Regions from separate parts of the Homo sapiens genome. Here region 1 is linked to region 2. Evidence: promoter capture Hi-C in 16 types of primary human blood cells and fetal thymus (Javierre and others, 2016). All regions are on one chromosome and are shown on one strand. Each heading gives the region's core, a stretch centred on a gene start or on the middle of the fragment in contact. The rest is flanking DNA. Distances are from core to core; before and after follow the strand shown.

What was found. The method cuts DNA at HindIII sites, captures the fragments that hold promoters and counts their contacts. A CHiCAGO score of 5 or more calls a contact.
Region 1: a fragment that was not itself captured here is called in contact with the fragment with the promoter of RASGRP4 in region 2 in 1 of 17 cell types (erythroblasts); the score reaches 6.4 in erythroblasts.

What each region holds. Positions count from the first base shown.
Region 1 is chr19:39,070,662-39,073,938 of GRCh38, forward strand. No RefSeq gene overlaps it. Among named protein-coding and RNA genes, the nearest start is that of ACP7, 12 kb to the right of the region's middle. RefSeq lists an enhancer at 2,786-3,277. The HindIII fragment of the contact is 4,805 bases long and covers 1-3,277 here.
Region 2 is chr19:38,424,595-38,427,811 of GRCh38, forward strand. RASGRP4 (RAS guanyl releasing protein 4) reads right to left here and starts at 1,625. Exons shown (of 17, transcript NM_170604.3): 1 at 1,475-1,625. The coding sequence starts at 1,497. RefSeq lists a silencer at 1,501-1,560 and an enhancer at 2,453-2,967. The HindIII fragment of the contact is 20,985 bases long and covers 1-3,217 here.

The DNA.
Region 1 (3,277 bases), core at 224-2,723, 650 kb after region 2:
CCAGAGACAGGGTCTCACTACATCACCCAAGCTGCTCTTGAACTCCTGGGCTCAAGAGATCCTCCCACCTCAGCCTCCCAAAGTGCTGGGAGCCACCACACCCGGCTCACATTCCTGTCTATACTTGACTTGCCTTGACCATGGCAGAGAGCCTGTTCTCCCTGCGAGACCTGCCATGGACCATGGCAGAGAGCCTGTTCTCCCTGAGTGACCTGCCATGGACCCAGGGGTATACTCGTTTCCCTCTAGTAACTGTGCTGCTGGGCCCACGCCTGAGAGCCTGTGGAGGGCTGGGGTGTTCCTGGAGGTAGGATACACAGAGCTGACCACACTCCTGCTGACCATGCACAGCGTGACCCACGCTTCAGCCCTGACAGATCCCCCAGTTGGTGGTGAGTCATGTGCCCTCTAGGACTCAACTCCTGTTCTCACCCACTGAACTCACGAGGAAGGATTAGTGTAGACCCTCAGGGAAGATCACACCAGATTTGATCTTGATATGACCCAGCTCATCCTTCACACAGCAGGGGCCAGGCTGCCCTTTCCTCACACAGAAGGATGAGCCTTGCTCTCCAGTGGGTTTTTATTTATTTATTTACAGACAGGATCTACCAAGGCTGGAGTGCAGTGGTGAGATCTTGGCTCACTGCAACCTCTGCCTCCCTCCCAGGCTCAAGTGATCCTCCCATCTCAGCTTTCTGAATAGCTGGGACCACGGGCACACACCACCACACCTGGCTAATTTTTGTATTTTTTGTAGAGACGAGGTTTAGCCATGTTGGCCAGGCTGGTCTCAAACTCCTGGGCTCAAGCGATCGGCCCGCCTCGGCCTCCCAAAGTGCTGGGATTACAGGCGTGAGCCACTGCGTCCAGCCTAATAAGATATTTTTTAAGGCAATTTTTTGGGGGGGACAGGGTCTTGCTCCGTTGCCCAGGCTGGAGTGCAGTGGCATGATCACAGCTCACTGCAGTCTCCTGGGATCAAGTGATCCTCTCACCTCAGCCTCCCGAGCACACCCCCGTAGGACTTTAAAATCTTCCAACACTCCTCAATGTGACTACAGTGGAAAATGGTGTACCCAACAATGGTACAATAAATAGTTGGGGCCAGGCATGGTGGCTCACACCTGTAATCCCAGCACTTTGGGAGGCCGAGGTGGGCAGATCATTTGAGGTCAGGAGTTCAAGAGCAGCCTGGCCAACATGGTAAAACCCTGTCTCTACTAAAAAAAAAAAAAAAAAAAGTCCGGGTGCAGTGGCTCACGCCTGTAATCCCAGCACTTTGGGAGGCCGAGGCAGGTGGTTCACGAGGTCAGGAGATCGAGACCATCCTGGCTAACAAGGTGAAACCCCGTCTCTACTAAAAAATACAAAAAAAAATTAGCCGGGCATGGTGGCGGGCACCTGTAGGCCCAGCTACTTGGGAGGCTGAGGCAGCAGAATGGCATGAACCCGGGAGGTGGAGCTTGCAGTGAGCCGTAATCGCGCCACTGCACTCCAGCCTGGGCAACAGAGTGAGACTCCGTCTCAAAAAACAAAAAACAAAAATTATCCAGGCATGGTGTCATGTGCCTGTATTCCCAGCTACTTGGAAGGCTGAGGCAGGAGAATCACTTGAACCCAAGTAGCAGAGGTTGCAGTGAGCCAAGATCACACCACTGTGCTCCAGCCTAGGCGACAGAGCAAGACTCTGTCAAAAAAAAAAAAATAATAATAAAATAAAAATAAATAAATAGTTGGGCCAATATTTATAAGAGCTCATGTTTGTTTGAGGGTTTAGTCTGTCCCTGGCCTCAATTCCGGATTTTATGGAACTGTTATGTCCACCTGATGATACAGTGATGCTTGGAGGCCACGTGCAGTGGCTCACGCCTATAATCCCAGCACGCTGGGAGTCCAAGGCAGGTGGATCGCTTCAGCCCAGGAGTTTGAGACCAGCCTGGTCAGCAAGGCGAGACTGTGTCTACAAAAAATTTTTAAAAATCAGGTGGGTGAGGTGGTGTGAAACTGTAGTCTCAGCTACTAGGGAGGTTGAAGTGGGAAGATCACTTGAGTCCAGGAGTTCGAGGCTGCAGTGAGCTATGATCATGACACTGCACTGCAGCCTAGGCAACAGAATGAGACCCTGTCTTAAAAAACAAAATACATGGCCAGGAAGGGTGGCTAACGCCTGTAATCCTAGCACTTTGAGAGGCCAAGACAGGTGGATCACCTGAGGTCGGGACTTCGAGACCAGCCTGACCAACATGGAGAAACTCCGTCTTGACTAAAAATGCAAAATTAGCTGGGCGTGGTGGTGCATGCCTGTAATCCCAGCTACTCAGGAGGCTGAGGCAGGAGAATTGCTTGAACCCCGGAGGCGGAGATTGCAGTGAGCCAACATTGCGCCATTGCACTCCAGCCTGGGCAACAAGAGCAAAACTTCATCTTAAAAAAAAAAAAAAGAAAAGAAAAAAAGACAAAAACAAAACCATGCTGGGAGATGACACAGGACCTGAGGCCTGAAATCCAGGATGAGATGGCAGAGGGATGAATCGGAGACAGTGGGGCCTGGTGGTTAAGGCCAAGTGTGCAGAAAGGAATGAATCTCAGGTTTTTTGTTTGTTTGTTTGTTTGTTTTTTGACACAGAGTCTTGCTCTGTTGCCCAGGCTGGAGTGCAATGGTGCAATCTCAGCTTACTGCAACTTCCACATCCCAGGTTCAAGAGATTCTCTTGTCTCAGCTTCCTGAGTAGCTGGGAACACAGGCGTCCATCACTATGCCTGGCTAATTTTTGTATTTTTAGTAGAGACAGAGTTTCACCATGTTGGCCAGGCTGGTCTCGAACTCCTGACCTCAGGCGATCCACCCGCCTTGGCCTCCCAAAGTGCTGGGATTACAGGCATGAGCCACCGCACCTGGCTTAGCTATTCTTCTTACTGACAGTGTGATGTCAGGTAAGTGAGCTCACTCCTCTGAACCTCAGTTTCCTCTTCTGTAATACAAAATGGGACCATGTGAAGTGGTGAGGAATCCATGCAATCATACACGGTTCACAGGAAGCCTCCAGTGAACTGGCTGTGGCTGTGATTATGAGGTGAAGTGTGGGGTGGGCTGTCCTGGGTCCGTCACAGGAAGCCTCCACATCTGAGAGGGTGAGTCACTCTTCCTTCCTGCTGTAATTTGAAGCAGGGTGGCATCTCTCGGGAGGTGAGCTGTGCCCTGGGCATGCTGCTCACCTCCGGTGGCTCACAGGTCCCCTGACATGTGACATCATATGCAGTCAGGATGAAATCA
Region 2 (3,217 bases), core at 375-2,874:
GTGTGTTTGGGTGTGTGTCAATGGGGGGGGGGGTCTCACTATATTTCTCAGGCTGGTCTAGAACTCCTGGCTTCAAGTTCTCCTTGTCTTATCCTCCCAAAGTGCTGGGATTAGAGGCATGAGCCATCGTTACTAGAAGGGACATTTTAAAGTATTATATATGTCCTAGGCTAAGGAAGGAGCATTCTAACTAAGTCAGCATTTCCCTAAGTGTGGGCACCCAGCTAGTACCAAAAGCATCACCTGGGAACTGGATATCAATACAGATTCTCAGGTCCCAACCCAGACCTACAAAATCAAACACTTTAAGGCTAAGGGTGGTGGCTCATGCCTCTAATCCCAGCACTTTGGGAGGCCGAGGTGGGTGGATCACGAGGTCAAGAGATCGAGACCATCCTGCCCAACATGGTGAAACCCCATCTCTACTAAAAATACAAAAAAGTAGCTGGGTGTGGTGGTGCACACCTGTAGTCCCAGCTACTTGGGAGGCTGAGGCAGGATGATCGCTTGAACCCGGGAGGCAGAGGTTGCAGTGAGCCAAGATTGTGCCACTGCACTCCAGCCTGGCGGCAGAGCGAGACTCCGTCTCAAAAAAAAAAAACAAAAAAAAAAAAACCAAACACTTTAAAGGTAAGCCCAGCAACCTGTATTTTACAAGCCCTCCAGACAGTTCTGAGGCTCGCTCCAGTTTGAGAACCACTGGTCTAGAGTGTCTCATTGAGTACTTACAGGCCTCTCCGAGGTAGAGGATATGATTGTTCTACTGACAGAAGAAAAACCCGAGACACAGAGCAGTTAAGTGACTTACCTAAGGTCACACAGCTAGGAAATTAGGCAGCCAGGAGTCTACCACTAAACTGCTGGGTGGGGAGGAAAGCCCTTTGCCCATCAGAGTGGTGCTGGGGGTGGCAGGAGGAGTTACCCAGGCTAGGGAGCCACCCACCATCTGCCTCTGTGGGGACAGAAGGGCCAGCTTGCCCAGGAGATGAAGCCCATTCCAGAACCGGCCGCACAGCCAGCCACTAGGCCCTGTCCTGCAGCCCCCTGTAGGGGTCTGGAACAGCCAGGAGTGGTTTAAGAGGCAGGGGAGTCGCCTTGCCCTGTGCCACACTCCCCTCTCCTGGGCCAGGCCCTGCAGGAGCCTGGAGTTTCCAGTCCACGGGGATGGGGAACCAGGAAGCCCCCAGGGAGGGCAGAGACACTCAGCCCAGGCCAGGGATGGAGGTGGGGTGATGAGGAGTGGAAAAGGGGCACGGAGCAGCTCAAACTCCAGGGACAACACGGTACAGATGCCACATACAAGCGACTGCAGCCGTAGCTGGCTCCAGACTCCCTGAAGCATCCACCTGGCCCCCCTGCGCCTGATCCCAAAGAAGTCAGGAATCCTGCCACCCTGGCGAGTGATCTCCCCAGCCCTCCCATGCAGAGGGAGGCCTCAGGGTGCTGCCGGGCTCCCTGGGGAGGGTCCTCTCACCTCTTACTGTCTTTTCTGTTCATGCTTCCCGCGTGGGGTGAGGAGGCCGGGGGTCTTGCAAGAGTAGGGCTCAGCTCCTCCCCTTGCCCAGGACTCCAGCTTCTCAGCCCCTAGGGAGCTGGGGCCTCCTCGGTGCTTGGGAAGGAAAGAGGAACTGCCCCTCCCCACCCACCCTCAGGCCAGGGGGAAGGAAGAGGCTGGGGAGAGACCGAAGGCCCCCCTCCCCCACACGGGGATCCCTTCTGCTGAGGTTTCCGGCATCGCTGGCTCTCCCACCCTCAAGCTCCCCGGCGGGCTCTCTATCTCCCCCATCTTTCGGTGTCGAGACCCGTCACTGTCATACTTCAATAAAAGAAGGGGCTTTTCTTTTTAAAGCATGACTGATATTTATGTAAAAACACACACACTCACTCAAAAAGATAAGTCTGTCTGTCTAGAAGGACATATTCATATATATAATTCATGAAGGTTTGAATGGAAACTCACAAGACATAGTATTTTGTATATTTCTTCATAGGCGTCTCTTATTCCTAGTTTAAGTGATACCATTTGTACCCTGGAAAACATTTTCACTTTCTGACTTTATTGTAACAAACCTCCACATAGCACCTACTGTGTACCACACACTGCTGTAAGGACTTTAAAAATATTAACTCATTTAATCCTCACACAATCCACTGTTACCTTAAAAAAAATTACATACCGGACCAGGCACGGGGGCTCACAGGGGCTCACGCCTGTCATCCAGCACTTTGGGAGGCCAAGGCAGGCGGATCGCTTGAGTCTAAGAGTTTGAGACCAGCTTGAACAACGTGACAAAACCCCGTCTCTACAAAAAATGTAAAACGTTAGGCCGGTGTGGTGGCTCACTCCTGCAATCCCAGCACTTTGGGAGGCCGAGGTGGGCGGATCACCTGAGGTTGGGAGTTTAAGACCAGCCTGAGCAACATGGAGAAACCCCGTCTCTACTAAAAATACAAAATTAGCCAGGCGTTGTGGCACATGCCTGTAATCCCAGCTACTCGGCAGGCTGAGGCAGGAGAATTGCTTGAACCCAGGAGGCGGAGGTTGCCGTGAGCCGAGATCGCGCCATTGCACTCCAGCCTGGGCAACAGGAGCGAAACTCTGTCTCAAAAAAAAAAAGTTAGCTGAGCGTAGTGATGCACACTTGTAGTCCCAGCTACTCAGGAGGCTGAGGCTAGAAGATTGCTTGAGCCCAAGGAGGTCGAGGCTGCAGTGAACCATGATGGTGCCACTGCACTTCAGTCTGCGTGGCAGAGCCAGACCCTGTCTCAAAAAACAAAAAACAAAAAAAAAAAACACACACACACATCAAAAAACATTAGAGATGGAGGTAAAGCCTTGGGGAAGCCCCTCCCCATCCCCTGCCTTTCTTAAGCAGGGTGTGACCAATATGACACGTTGTCGAGTTTCGTCCAAACTGCTGTCTGTGCGTTTAAGCACATCATATAAACATGTGCTCCTAGAAACAGACTTTTCTTTTGAGTGTGCATTTTTTTCTTTTTACCTAAATGTGTCATGCTCGACACTTTTTTTTAAATTGAAGTACAAAAAAGATCACGAATCATTAAGTATTTAGGTTGATGAAATGTCACCAACTGAGCAAACCTGTGTGACATTCATACAAATCCAGACACAGAACATTCTCACCCTCCACAAGCCCCCTGTCTTTCTTCCCAGCACGAATTCCCACAGATCCCCACTCGCCCGAAGTCTGGCGCA